2 separate regions of the Homo sapiens genome follow, and region 2 is linked to region 1. Evidence: promoter capture Hi-C in 16 types of primary human blood cells and fetal thymus (Javierre and others, 2016). All regions are on one chromosome and are shown on one strand. Each heading gives the region's core, a stretch centred on a gene start or on the middle of the fragment in contact. The rest is flanking DNA. Distances are from core to core; before and after follow the strand shown.

Region 1 (6,463 bases), core at 440-2,939:
TATGTTTTTTTTTGGTAACATACACTTCAATAAACAGTTCAGAAACAAAACATTGTGCAGGACAAACTGAATTTGACCCAAGGGCTTCCTGTTTATGACTGTGTTCTGAAGGAATTTAGGCAAACACTAGATGCTCTGGATACAAAGATTTTAAAAATCCAGTTCATATTTTCATTATGTTCCCAATTCATCCAGTTAACAGATACATTTGCAACTGAAATATACTTGAATAAATGAGAATATGAGCATTCTAAACCAAACAGGAGGGCCGTCATTCCCTAAGGTGCTGCAGGGCTAGGATGGGGCCTGAGTTACAGAGGGCCACTAATGGGACTACCGAGCTGCCTGGAACTGTCAGCCTAGAGGTCCAAGGAGGAGTACTTTATTTAAGTGAGGGGAGGATGAACACATAGCCAGCTGCTATGCACATCTGAGGCACATGTATTCTTTAGGACTGTAGCTGCCTTGCTTAACACAATGTGTGCCATTTCTCTGGAGAGAGGGAACAAACGATGGTCAGACTCTTGATGACAGTAGAGAACAGGTCTTCTAACCCACTGGAAAAGCTCTTTGCTGGCCTCCAAATCTATACAACAGTTGGGAAGAACCATTGGGGTCACTTACAACAGTAAGTCCTTGCCACTAGGGTTAGAAAACTGTCCTCTCAGGCCGGCCATGGTGGCTCATGCCTGTAATCCCAGCACTTTGGGAGGCCGAGGCGGGCAGATCACGAGGTCAGGAGATCGAGACCATCCTGGCTAACACAATGAAACACTGTCTCTATTAAAAAACCAAAAAATTAGCCAGGCGTGGTGGCGGGCGCCTGCAGTCCCAGCTACTCGGGAGGCTGAGGCAGGAGAATGGCGTGAACCTGGGAGGCAGAGCTTGCAGTAAGCCAAGATTGCGCCACCGCACTCCAGCCTGGGTGACAGAGTGAGACTCCGTCTCAAAAAAAAAAAAAAGAAAACTGTCCTCTCTTGAAGGTCTTAGTTGATGTAGAATTGGGCAGTCTCTTGGGGATGAGTGGAAAGGGGGTACAAATAATGATTTATTTTCAGGAAATAGCATCTTCCCTGCTCTAAGTCTCCCTAAATGTCAGTGAGGCCATAGCTAATATTCTCTTGAAAAGGGAAAGTTGTATGCATCCTAAGAGGGTGTTACTTGGACATGCATGTGTGTCTGTGTTATATCACATATGTTGAGTCCAGGGAGCAGTTCATGGAGCCTCATCCATAGTTTCCCTGACATGCTATAGCAGTGCTAAAAGCTTAAAAAAAAAAAAAAGTCTGGAGAAGTATGCATAATGCAATAGCTACAGTCATTAGAAGAAAAAAAAAGTATGGTTCTTTCTCAGGTACATCTGAAGTTTGGGTATATACTTCAGTAATGTTGGTATCCTTTATTCAGATTGATAAATATTTTATTAGTCTATACAGGTTGAGTAATTTTTGAAATTGTAATTTACAAATATTCATTCACTTAAGAATCTAATATTTTTAAAACTAGGTATTTCTTGAATGACTCCGACTGCACTTTCAATGGCCAGTTGCCATGCATTATTAAACTTTCTTTTTTTTTCTTCTTCAGAATCTTCCAGTAGACGTCTAGAGTTTAGCTAGAAGTCTTGGCTACGATACAAACAGTGATGGAAAACACATGAGCAGTAACAAGTTTTAATCTTGCTCCTCAGTACTAACATGGACTAATCTGTGGGAGCAGTTTATTCCAGTATCACCCAGGGTGCAGCCACACCAGGACTGTGTTGAAGGGTGTTTTTTTTCTTTTAAATGTAATACCTCCTCATCTTTTCTTCTTACACAGTGTCTGAGAACATTTACATTATAGATAAGTAGTACATGGTGGATAACTTCTACTTTTAGGAGGACTACTCTCTTCTGACAGGTATGTTTCATGTCTATCTTACAAGTATCGATGTATACTTTACAGTCAATACTAAGGAGACATTAATGTTATTAATAAATGCTTATAAATAATAGGATAAAGTCCAAAGTTTATCTCTATAATTTCTTAAAAATCAGCATTTAAATACAAACCTAAATTTGTACCTAAAATTATTCTAGTTTTATGTCTTACCTATAATGAATGTATTTTAAATATAATTATGTGACTTTTTTTTTCAGCTAAGTGAAAACCTGTCATTATGCCTTACCATAAATGTTAACATGATTGATTTTAAAAGTCATCTAAATAAACATCTTGTATGTTTATCTAGGAAAATAACATTGCTATAATAATGATCATGAAGTTTGGGGATATCACAGCTATATTAAATGAAACAGTAAATATATTTTTCAATATTTAAAATATTTTCTAATGTGTATTTAAAATGTGTGAATTACTGAAATGTCAATTTTACTTATACATTTGAATATTCATTTTTTTCCTTGATAAATGTCTTCCTTATTATAATGAAATGGCACTGAAAAGTTCAAATGGAAATCTATTCAATTCCAAGAAAGAATACTTATCAGCAATAGTTTAGCTAGCACTATATTCAATATGAAAGATTAGGAAATTTTCACAGCATGTATACAGTCAGAATTTAACACTTTCAAAGATTTCCTTTGTCTACTCCCAAAGTAAATTTCTGATTAAATTTTAGATTAAAAAATTTAAGCAATGTATTCAATATTCTACTCCCTAGTAATCTAAATAGCGCACAGCATTCTTTCATGTTAATCTATTCAGAGGTGTGGCACCCAGGAAACAGTGGCCACATGGTGTAGGGACTGAGTCATAAAGAACCTGAGGGGGTTGTATTTCCCTAAAAATAAAGTTGTTTAAATCCAAGAATCAAGCTGTTAAAAGAAAGAAATGAAAAAAGAAAGAAAAATCGAGCACAAGCCCACACACATAAAAGGATCCTGATGTTTTTAGTTTGTTTTTTGGCATTAAGGAGTATAGTGTAGTAGTGGAAAGAACAGAGGATATATAGTCTTCTGTTACAACTAACTACTCAATTAAAAACAAATATTCTGATAACTGATCTGAGGTTTGAGACAAAAACAATTAACTTTACAAGCACAAGTCTTGAGGCACTGTGGGAAACATCATAAAAATGGAGAGGCAGTAGATTTTGTTTTTTAAGACAGTAGCTTGATTGCTAGACATGTGGAGAAATTAATGAAGGGCAAAATTAGTATAAAAGGAAGAACAGCTAGAATGCTTTGTCAGAATGCTAGTTATACTTCTAAGGTAAAATTAACTACTTTTTAAGGAAAGTGCTATCTTTATCAGTATCCATGAACAAATGGTACTGTGAATAAGTTTCCAAATGCATGTTGGACTTTTAACTCATTTGTTAGCTTACAAGACTATGCCTTGATTACATCTGAATTTGGTTTGGATTCCTTCGGTGAAATATATGGAGTATGTTATATCACATTTATATGCTGAAATCTGCTACTGGTACCTGTGAACTGATAGGCATGTTTAAACCCAGGGGAAAAGTTGCCAAGCGGGCCTTTAAACATGGGATTTAAAAGCACAGTGACTTATTTACCTAATAATAGTGTCTGAGAGGAAATACCATTTCACTTAGATAAACTTTCTAAGTTTGTAGACCAGTTAAATGGAAACAAGAAAGCTTATGTGCTTCTTAAGCTTTATTTCCAGTCCATATGTTATGAACTCTTTTAAGAACTTGGCCAAACCTCCTTACCTAGGCTTTTCCAGAGGAAAGTCTGTTTACTGTCTGGAAGTAACTATGAGATTAAAATCCATTTAGGAGGACATGCAGTCTAGTGCAAAGCACAACCAACAAGCAGTGAGGAAGCCAGCCCTCAGCTCCACCACCTCCAGCCAGTTCTGGACGCTCACTGCCTCTGCTTTTTCTCAGTAAAAGAGGGCCATGGGGGGAAAGTCTCAAAGACCTCTCTTAGCTCTAGGCTACTATGATTTATTAGTAATAGCAGTAGCACTGGAAGAATACTCCAAACACTACTCTGATTAAGAGAGACTTGAAACCAAAATCCAAAGCTTTCCATGAGTGGAAAACACTGGCAAAACTGGTCTAAATCAGGGAAATATTGAGTATTCCTGAGAAGAAGATTTAATATTTTTAAAGGGTTTAAAAATAGAGTAACCTGAATACTGCCAAAACTAATAAAACAGAGGTTGTACCTCATTAATAAACTCAAAATAAAACAGCCAAAAGTCATATCATTTTAAATGACATATAATATTCTCTACATTCTTTCTGAATAATAAGAAAAAAATACTGCTATCTAGGGTTCTCTCCTAGACATTCCATTATTTTCCTATTGGTAAACAGTTGCACACTGAACTGGGGGAGGTTTAGGACCTATACTTGATTGTACTTATTAACAAAGCAGTGGAAGAGACCCAGCAAGAGACTCAGGTAAAGAGTGTAAATAATGAATTCCTCATGGTATCAAGGTTGGCCTGACTTTTTTCTTTGCAAGCAACCAGGATACACAAATGCAAAAGATTAGATTAATTGTAAAAGGCTAACAGAAGACAGAACTAGCAGAGAGAAATGAATTTTCCAGAAGGCATTTTTGAGTTTCCATATAAAGACTTTCCTAACAGCCATGGATGGACAACTGTGGAAGATGCTGCCTTGAGGTAGTATCCTCTCCCTGGAGCTATTCAAGCAGGGTGGATATGCTCCCTGTTCCAGAATGTTCTGGAACCTTCACCACCAGGAGGAACTCCTGTTTCAAAGGTCTTCATCTCTTATTCTCCAGGAAAGGGCCTAACTACTATATAAAAGTGGCTGCCTCCACTGCTCAGCAACTGGAATGCTTCCCAACAGCTAAAGATAATGCTACTGCCTAAAACTTGCAGGCAGAAGTCTCCATTTCATATTTTAATTTTACCGCAGTTTTGATTAAAGGCAGGGAGGGTCTCCTGTAACTTATCAGTCTCAGAAAGAGGAGAGACAAAGGAAGGGGCCCCGGCTGATGCTTCTCCTGATGCCACTGGGGGACTGGTCAGCAGCCCTGAGGCAGGGATGTGGAAAAAAGCAGGACCACTACTGTTCTGCTCCCTGCCTTCCCTGCCCTGTGTGCCTTCTCCTTCTCCTCTCAACTCTCAGTTCTGCTCCTCATACCTGATCCAGTTCCTCATCTCGAACCTCAGCTCAGTACTGGGGAAGCCTCTCTTGACGGTGGCACGAGGCTGAAGGCATCTGGGAAACCATTACGTGGTGTGCAAAGGAGCTGAGGCCAGTCCTTGCTCCCGCTGCCAGGCCACAAGGAACACCACGATGTGTTCTTGGCACCCCACTTTGGATCTCTAACACATTCCTGGTGTTTTACTTTTTTTTTTTAAGTTCCATAGTTTTTTTGTTTCTACATTTTGGATATATTATCTGTTAAATAGGTTTTTCCGGTCCAGACTGGGAATCTAAAGCCCATTTGGTTCAAAGATTCTATGGGAAAAAACTTAAACTAAAACATTCAGGCTGGGTGCAGTGGCTCACACAGTGGCACACTTTGGGAGGCCGAGATGGGTGGATCGCTTAAGGTCAGGAGTTCAAGACCTGCCTGGCCAACATGGTGAAACCCCATCTCTACAAAAATATAAAAAATTAGCCAGGCATGATGGCACATGCCTGTAATCCCAGCTACTTGAAGGCTGAGGTGGGAGGATCACTTGAACCTGGGACGTGGAGGTTGCAGTGAGCCAAGATGGCGCAACTGTACTCCAGCCTGGGCGACAAAGTGAGACTCCATCTCGAACAAACAAACAAACAAAAAACCCCAAAAAAACAAACAAAAAAGCACAATCAACCAACTTAAAAAATAACCTTGTCAAAATCTTCATTTCCCATTGACCAGAACAAATAGGATTAAGCCTCAAGAAATTGTGAACCCCAAAACAATTTCCCAAGTAGGTGCTATTGTTTGACTTTTGGGTAGAAATAGATGAGAATAGTGTGTATGAGAAACCTTTGATTACACCAATTCCTACCAAAAGTGGTAGGAAAAGACAGCAGTATATGCAGAAATAAAGCAAAGAAAATTCTGTTGGCGGACTGACATTTAAAATATTTTAAAAGCAACATAATTAAGAAACTATGCATGGGAAGAAAAAAAAAATGCTTTGCTTATAATCCCATTATCCCTCTTACCAGGTTTGTACATTCTATTTCAATCTTTTTTTCATGTGAATATATGTTTTTATAAATGTCTTTAGTTCTATTGGTCTCAAACAGTAAACTGAGGGTTATGCGTAGACAGACACGGTGAAGAATTTTACTTTCAAAGCTCTGGGTACCACACATCTAGTGTTAAAGCCCTACACCCCTGTTCCTACCCCATAAGTCACAGTATATACAGTTTACATTGTCTATTTACTAATCCAGGCATTTTATTTTTTAGTTTTTCTATTAATGTACCTGACATTCAAGTGTTAACTTTACGATCTCGTATTACCTGACAGTAGTTGATTAGGAGTTGCGGGTTTTTTATTTTTG
Region 2 (6,587 bases), core at 1,609-4,108, 310 kb before region 1:
ATAAGAGCCAGGGTGTCCTGGTGACTGCTGCACCTTGCCCCTAGTAGGAAATGCTGCTGCCTCTGAGCAGGGCTCAGGGGCTGTGAGCAGTGATTGGCAGCGGCAGGGCTGTGCAGCCTGAGCTCCTGATTCCTCGGACCCACGTGCACACCTGGAGAATGGCGTGCGCTTCACCTCCTGAGCACCAAGGCCCCTCCTTCGTAAGGATTTACCCCATTCATGTGAGCCCCAGGAAGAGTGATGCATTTTCAGATGTTTTTAGAGAGAGGGCTCGTGGAGCACTAATCAGAGCTGTCTATGTTTGAGGATGTTGTTATGGATACATTCATTTTTCAGGATGAAAGTCCACGCTTTCCTCACACAGCAGTCCCTGATGGTTCTCCCTCTGTTCAGGGCCTTCATTACCATGTCTGGCACGACCCTGATGCAAATGAAACATTTCCAAGAACAAGGAGCTATAACAGGAACTCAAATGTTGCATTTATAATGATTCCCACTTCGGCTTTTTGACTTTAGAGTGCAAAGAAAAATGTGCAATTTCTTATTTGGGCAAAAACAAAATAAAATAAACAATGAATGCAAATTCCAAATCAGAGTCTGTTACTGTGAAGTATAGGGCTCTTAAAGGAAACAATCTAACTCTAAAAATGGAACAAACCAGAGCAGCTGCCCTGAAGAATCAAGGTGGTTTCCACCCAAGCTCCACCTGACGCTTGTGAATGGAGAAACCAACGACACCCGTGAGCACAGACCTGCTCTCAGGGAGGGATTTTACCTTCATCTGCACAAAGCACACTGCGTAGATCCATGGGGGCTCATTGGCACTAAATAGAAAAATAGATCCCTTCTGCCTCGTTCCAGTTCACACCCATGTAGCCACAGAGCTGGCAAGAAGAATAAAAGAAAGTTTTAATCTATCCCATTCTCAGTCTCACTGCATTGACATTTATTAACCAACTCCATTACTAAGTATACACTCCAACATTTGCAAAATGCTGACTACATTATGTGCTCTACAGTGCCAGAAGTTAGTTCATTAAAATCTGAATTTAAATTCTATGTCCATTTAGAAACTATTTGTATTATATTCTTCTGTAATTGGTTAATACTTATGAGTCTAAACGCAGGAATATGGATTTTTCAATGAACTTTAAATAACCTTATTGATTAAAGTCAAAGTAATGTTTGCTTAGAAATTACAGGATTAGATTTCATTATTATTTAATTTACTTATTTTTAACTCCTGGCTTGTCAGGAAGATGGCAAAAGTTGATGTGTTCCCTTTTTCCTATACTATGCTATGAAACATGGAATGTGTCATTCTTATCTTACTAAAAATGCAGTGTTGCATCACACTGCAGTATGGTCATGGCACAATTTAGCTTCATCACAGAATAAATCAGTCATAATTTAAGTGCCATTTGCTATGCCTTTCCAATAGAATCCGCCGGTGTTCACATGGCAGATATTATTATGACCAGGCATCATTACAACTGGCCATGACAGGCCAGGCGTGGTGGCTCACGCCTGCAATCCCAGCACTTTGGGAGGCCAAGGTGGGCGGATCATGAGGTCAGGAGTTCAAGACCAGCCTGGCCAATATGGTGAAACCCCATCTGTACTAAAAAATACAAAAATTAGCCGGGCATGGTGGTGAGCGCCTGTAGTCCCAGCTACTCGGGAGGCTAAGGCAGAAGAATCTCTTGGACCTGGGAGGTGGAGGCTGCAGTGAGCGGAGATCATGCCACTGCACTCCAGCCTGGGAGACAGGGCAAGACTCCATCTCAAAAAAAAAAAAAAAACGATTGACCATGACTCGGTAATTCCTGGGCTTCAAAGTCAGTCGCCTTGTCTTAGTTCACAGGCTTGTATTGCAGGACTGGCTTCTGTTATATAGCAGGGCTCACATACTCTCTCCTACAGGGATGTAGGTGGTATTCAGACTAGTTCCTTTTCCTGCTGATTATACTACAGGATGTGGGTTATCCAGAGCAGAGTGCATTGGTCGAAGTTGCAAGAGCTCTCAGAGAGCTTCCATAGGTTTGGAGACCCATACGATTCCCACAGGTGGGCCCCTTGAGCCTCAGCAACCAGGACAGAGGGCCACTGCCCCACGGCCACTTTGGCCTCCATCTGTAACAAAATAGTCAAGTAACCCTGTTGGATCTAGGGAGAAGCCCTTTCCCAACACTGGGTGCTAGCTTTACCCAACGTTACCCAACCCACTTCACCGAAGCCTCATTGTCCTCCCAGGCTGACTCCCACCCCTTGCTCCCTTTAATCTGCTTATTTTTTTCAATAAATTTTTCCCCACTGAGTGCTACTCTTCATCAAAAGCAAATTCAGGCCGGGTGCGGTGGCTCACACTTGGAATCCCAGCACTTTGGGAGGCCAAGGTGGGCGGATCATTTGAGGTCAGGAGTTTGAGACCAGCCTGACCAACATGGTGAAACCCCATCGCTACTAAATACAAAAATTATCTGGGCGTGATGGCGGGTGTCTGTAATCCCAGCTACTCGGGAGGCTGAGGCAGGAGAATAGCTTGAACCCAGGAGGCAGAGGTTGCAGACAGCCAAGATTGCGCCACTGCACTCCAGCCTGGGCAACAAGAGTGAGATTCCCCCTCAAAAAAAAAAAAAAAAAGCAAATTCAGCTCATCCCATGAAGCCGAGGCCAGCACCCGTCTCCCCTAAGGCCCTTTTCTGTCTGGTGGGCCAGTGTTCAGGCCACCATGCATGCTGTTGCCACTGTGTCCTCGTGGCTGAGCGCAGTTAGGATACATGTTTCATTACTCAAAAGTATTGGGTTTCCCCATACTTGCATTTTGTAAGTCGTGGTCACACCTCATTGTCATTTAGTCTGAATATGTCATAGAGGTTTCCATTGTCTTACTTGTGCATGGAGGGGCTGCTCCCTTGGGGAATTTGGACCCACCGGGTGATGCCTACTGCTTTAGTTCCATCACCATCCCAGTGGTTTTTCCTGGTTTGTGTAAGAGCTTTCCATTCACAGAACAGGGTGGTTTGTGTCTGTGCACAACACACTGTGGCATGTTGGACAGGCCACCATTCTATGTCGTCCAAGATAACCAGGGAGAACTTTGTAAGCCTCTGATCACCTGGGTTTATAGTTACACAGGAGTCAGTCAACCAGCAATCATACACTACACAGTCTGATGCCCCAATAGGGAGTAGTTCCCAAAAAACCCTTCCCAAAAGATACCCTTTGTTGTAGATGTACCCTGAAAAGTCAGAGTTGAAAGATGCTAGAGTTCCACTTGGTCATCGTCGTGTGACCACAGTGTCTCTGACAGTGATGTCACTAGGTTTGCAGGTTGCTATTCGACCTTGTCAGATTCCTAAAACAGGGATGGTTTGACAAACACACAAGTTTACCCTTTCAGGCATCTGGTATAACTGTGCTAAGAGACAATATAATTCCCTTGCTCTGAGCTTACCTCGAGGCACCAATATATTGTTGGGTTTCTCTCATTGCATAACCCATTTATTCATTCCTTTGCCCTCAGCTACTATTTCTCCTTCTCTCCATTTGTCATTGATTTTCACCCAACTTTCACACCTTTAGAAAGGATGAAGGGATGTTAGGTTCATCCACTGTGTAGGCCCAGATGGCCAGCAGTGTAGGCCCAGATGGCCAGCAGCAATACCACTTCAGCAGGTGCCTCCCGCAGGGCCATTTCCAGTCATGTAAGGTAGGGCTGCAAAGAGACGAACTGTGAGGCTGCCCTGACCACCAGGAGATACAGCTGCACTCACTGTCCACCTCTGATTTGCCAGATGCAGTGGAGGCACAGCTATCCCATCAGACCTTTAGGATTTCTGACACAAATGTTAAAAGATATAACAACTGTTTCTCACTTAAGAATCATTCCTGCCTCTGGCCGGGTGCGGTGGCTCATGCCTGTAATCCCAGCACTTTGGGAGGCCAAGGCCGGCGGATCACAAGATCAGGAGTTCGAGACCAGTCTGACCAACATGGTGAAACCCTGTCTCTACTAAAAATACAAAAATTAGCTAGGTGTGGTAGTGTGAGCTTTACCTACCCAGTGGCAGATGCTTCCAACACTTGCAGCTGTGGGCCTGATCTCAGGCTCTTTTCAGCAGGTAGGAGACAAGAAAGTTGAGGTGCTGTTGTGAAGAACTGCATAGTCGTAGCAGCATCCTTCCCGGCCATCTTCCCCAGATCACCCCAAGAGTGGAGGGATCTATCTAGTGGGGATCCTCCTTGACCACCACATGTTAAGTGTGAGCACACATGCATGGAGGTGTGTAAGCCTTCACGCTTTTATCTCTCCCCATGTAAGATAACAAACATTTCCATTGCCCATTTCAATTCTCTCACAAACTACTCTGAGGATAATGTGCAGCATGATATACCCATTTGATGGGATGTCTCCTTGCCCTGTGTAGGTTGTAAAGTGTGTTCCTTGGTCCGAAGGTATGTAACTTAGTGACACACATTGATACAGTGACTTCTGCTCAGTACTTTTATAGTATCTTGAGCATTTGCATCTGCCACTGGGTAGGTAAAGCTCAGTCCAGAGTAAGTGTCTATTCCTGCCAGAACCCATTTATAAACTCCCTCCAGGGCTACCAGCAGGGGTCCCGTACAGTCCACCTGCCAGCTGCATGTGCGGTGTTCTCCCTCTGGGGAATCTGCCCCTTAGCCACCTGTGGTCTCCATCTTCTTGTTGTCAAGGCATTTCTTGTTGGCATTTGTGTCTCTGAGGGTGCAGGAGGGACATGTTTCTGAGCAGCCCATCCCTGCACTGTCACCCACTCCTTTGTTGAACCTAGGTGGCCACCTCAAGTTTGTTCACCAGGATATCCACCTACCGGATCTGATCACAGATCCTGGGAGGGATTCTTCAGGTGGGCATTGATATGACCTACTTTAATGTGCCCCTTAAATTCCTGCAGTGCTGTGCTCCATGTTGGCATCCCTTCACAGCCCAGTTTGCCATTGCCCCTCTGCCTGGTCACATGGCCAGGCCATTGGCCACTGCCCATGAGTCAGTAAAAACCCAAACACGAGCTCTTATGATTGTTCCATTCTTTCATCGCAGCAAGAAACGCAGCATGCAGTTCATCTAGCTGGGCTGATTTGTTCTTGCCTTTTTCAATATGAGTTTTCCCATTATTGCTCATGATGTGGTGGCCTTCAGATCTGGATGTTGTCCATCCACCTTGAAACTGCCAACCACAAACCAAATAGCTCTTTGTTGTCCATTGAGAGCTGTTCATGGGGCACCATCCATGATGCCATAGACCTGGCAGATCCTCAGCTGGTTCCGAAACCGGCCAGAGGGGAAAAGCCCTCCTTGCATTCCTCTGTATCATGCTCCTGTAGAAACCATTTCCGTTTTATTATGGAACTCTTCTGAGCAGTGCCTTCCTTATTGAACTGTATCTCTGCCATCCCCCAAGACAACATGTGTATTTCAGGCTTTAAGATGAGAGTATGTCCTTCAGTCTTAGGGGCAGTTTCAATTAATGCCCAATCGCAAGCTACTACCTACCAGGTCTGGGGATTTCCTGGTCCAAAATCCCAGTGGTCACCACTGGGTGGCACTCATGCATAATGTTATTGCACAGAGACCACAGTACCAGGATTCCAGCCTCCAACAGGTTATTAAAGTGAAAGTCTCTTTGCCCACCAAGCATTTTACACTTTTTCAAATTAACAACCTGTCTGGGCTCAGGCCCGTGGGTTCCCATTTAGCGTGTCCAATTAATATGGGCCAAAGGGCAAACGTCCGTGCCTTCTGCTTCACAATACTAGATACAGACCTGTTCCCCAGTCGGACATAATACCCATCCTGTTAACACATTCAGGTAAAGGAGGTGCAACCACTTCACATAAAGTCCATTCAAAATTCCTATTTTCTTCCATATTTTCACCTTAATTACATCAACCCATCAACCATTGAGATCGTGAGAGTAGGGCCTTAATGATGATGTGGAGGTTCACACCTGTAATCCCAGCACTTTGGGAGACAGAGGTGGGTGGATCACTTGAGGCCAGGAGTTTGAGACCAGCCTGGCCAACATGGCAAAATCCCGTCTTTACTAAAAATACAGGCCGGGCACAGTGGCTCAAGCCTGTAATCCCAGCACTTTGGGAGGCCCAGGTGGGTGGACCAAGAGGTCAGGAGATCAAGACCATCCTGGCTAACACAGTGAAACCCCATCTCTACTAAAAATACAAAAAAATTAGTCGGGCATGGTGGCAGGCACCTGTAGTCCTAGCTACTCGGGAGGCTGAGGCAGGAGTGTGGTGTGAACCCCAGAGGTGGAGCTTGCAGTGAGGCTAGATCATGCCACTGTGCTCCAGCCTGGGCAACAGAGAGAGACTCTATCAAAAAAAAAACAGAAAACAAAAATTAGCCAGGTGTGGTGGTGCACACCTGTAATTCCAGCTACTTGGGAGGCTGAGGCACAAGAATTGCTTGAGCCAAGGAGGCATAGGTTGCGGTGAGCTGAGATCATGCCACTGCACTCCAGCGGGACACAGAGTGAGACTCTGTCTCACTAAATAAATAAATAATGATTTTTTTTTAAACGAGG

The links. The method cuts DNA at HindIII sites, captures the fragments that hold promoters and counts their contacts. A CHiCAGO score of 5 or more calls a contact.
Region 2: a contact is called between a fragment that was not itself captured here and the fragment with the promoter of ASPN in region 1, in 2 of 17 cell types (M2 macrophages and M1 macrophages). The highest score is 5.6, in M2 macrophages.

What each region holds. Positions count from the first base shown.
Region 1 is chr9:92,477,732-92,484,194 of GRCh38, reverse strand. It overlaps ASPN (asporin), which reads left to right and starts at 1,689. Exons shown (of 8, transcript NM_017680.6): 1 at 1,689-1,902. The region is part of intron 5 of CENPP (centromere protein P); the gene reads right to left. The HindIII fragment of the contact is 2,340 bases long and covers 1,270-3,609 here.
Region 2 is chr9:92,789,961-92,796,547 of GRCh38, reverse strand. No RefSeq gene overlaps it. Among named protein-coding and RNA genes, the nearest start is that of BICD2, 28 kb to the right of the region's middle. The HindIII fragment of the contact is 8,551 bases long and covers 1-6,587 here.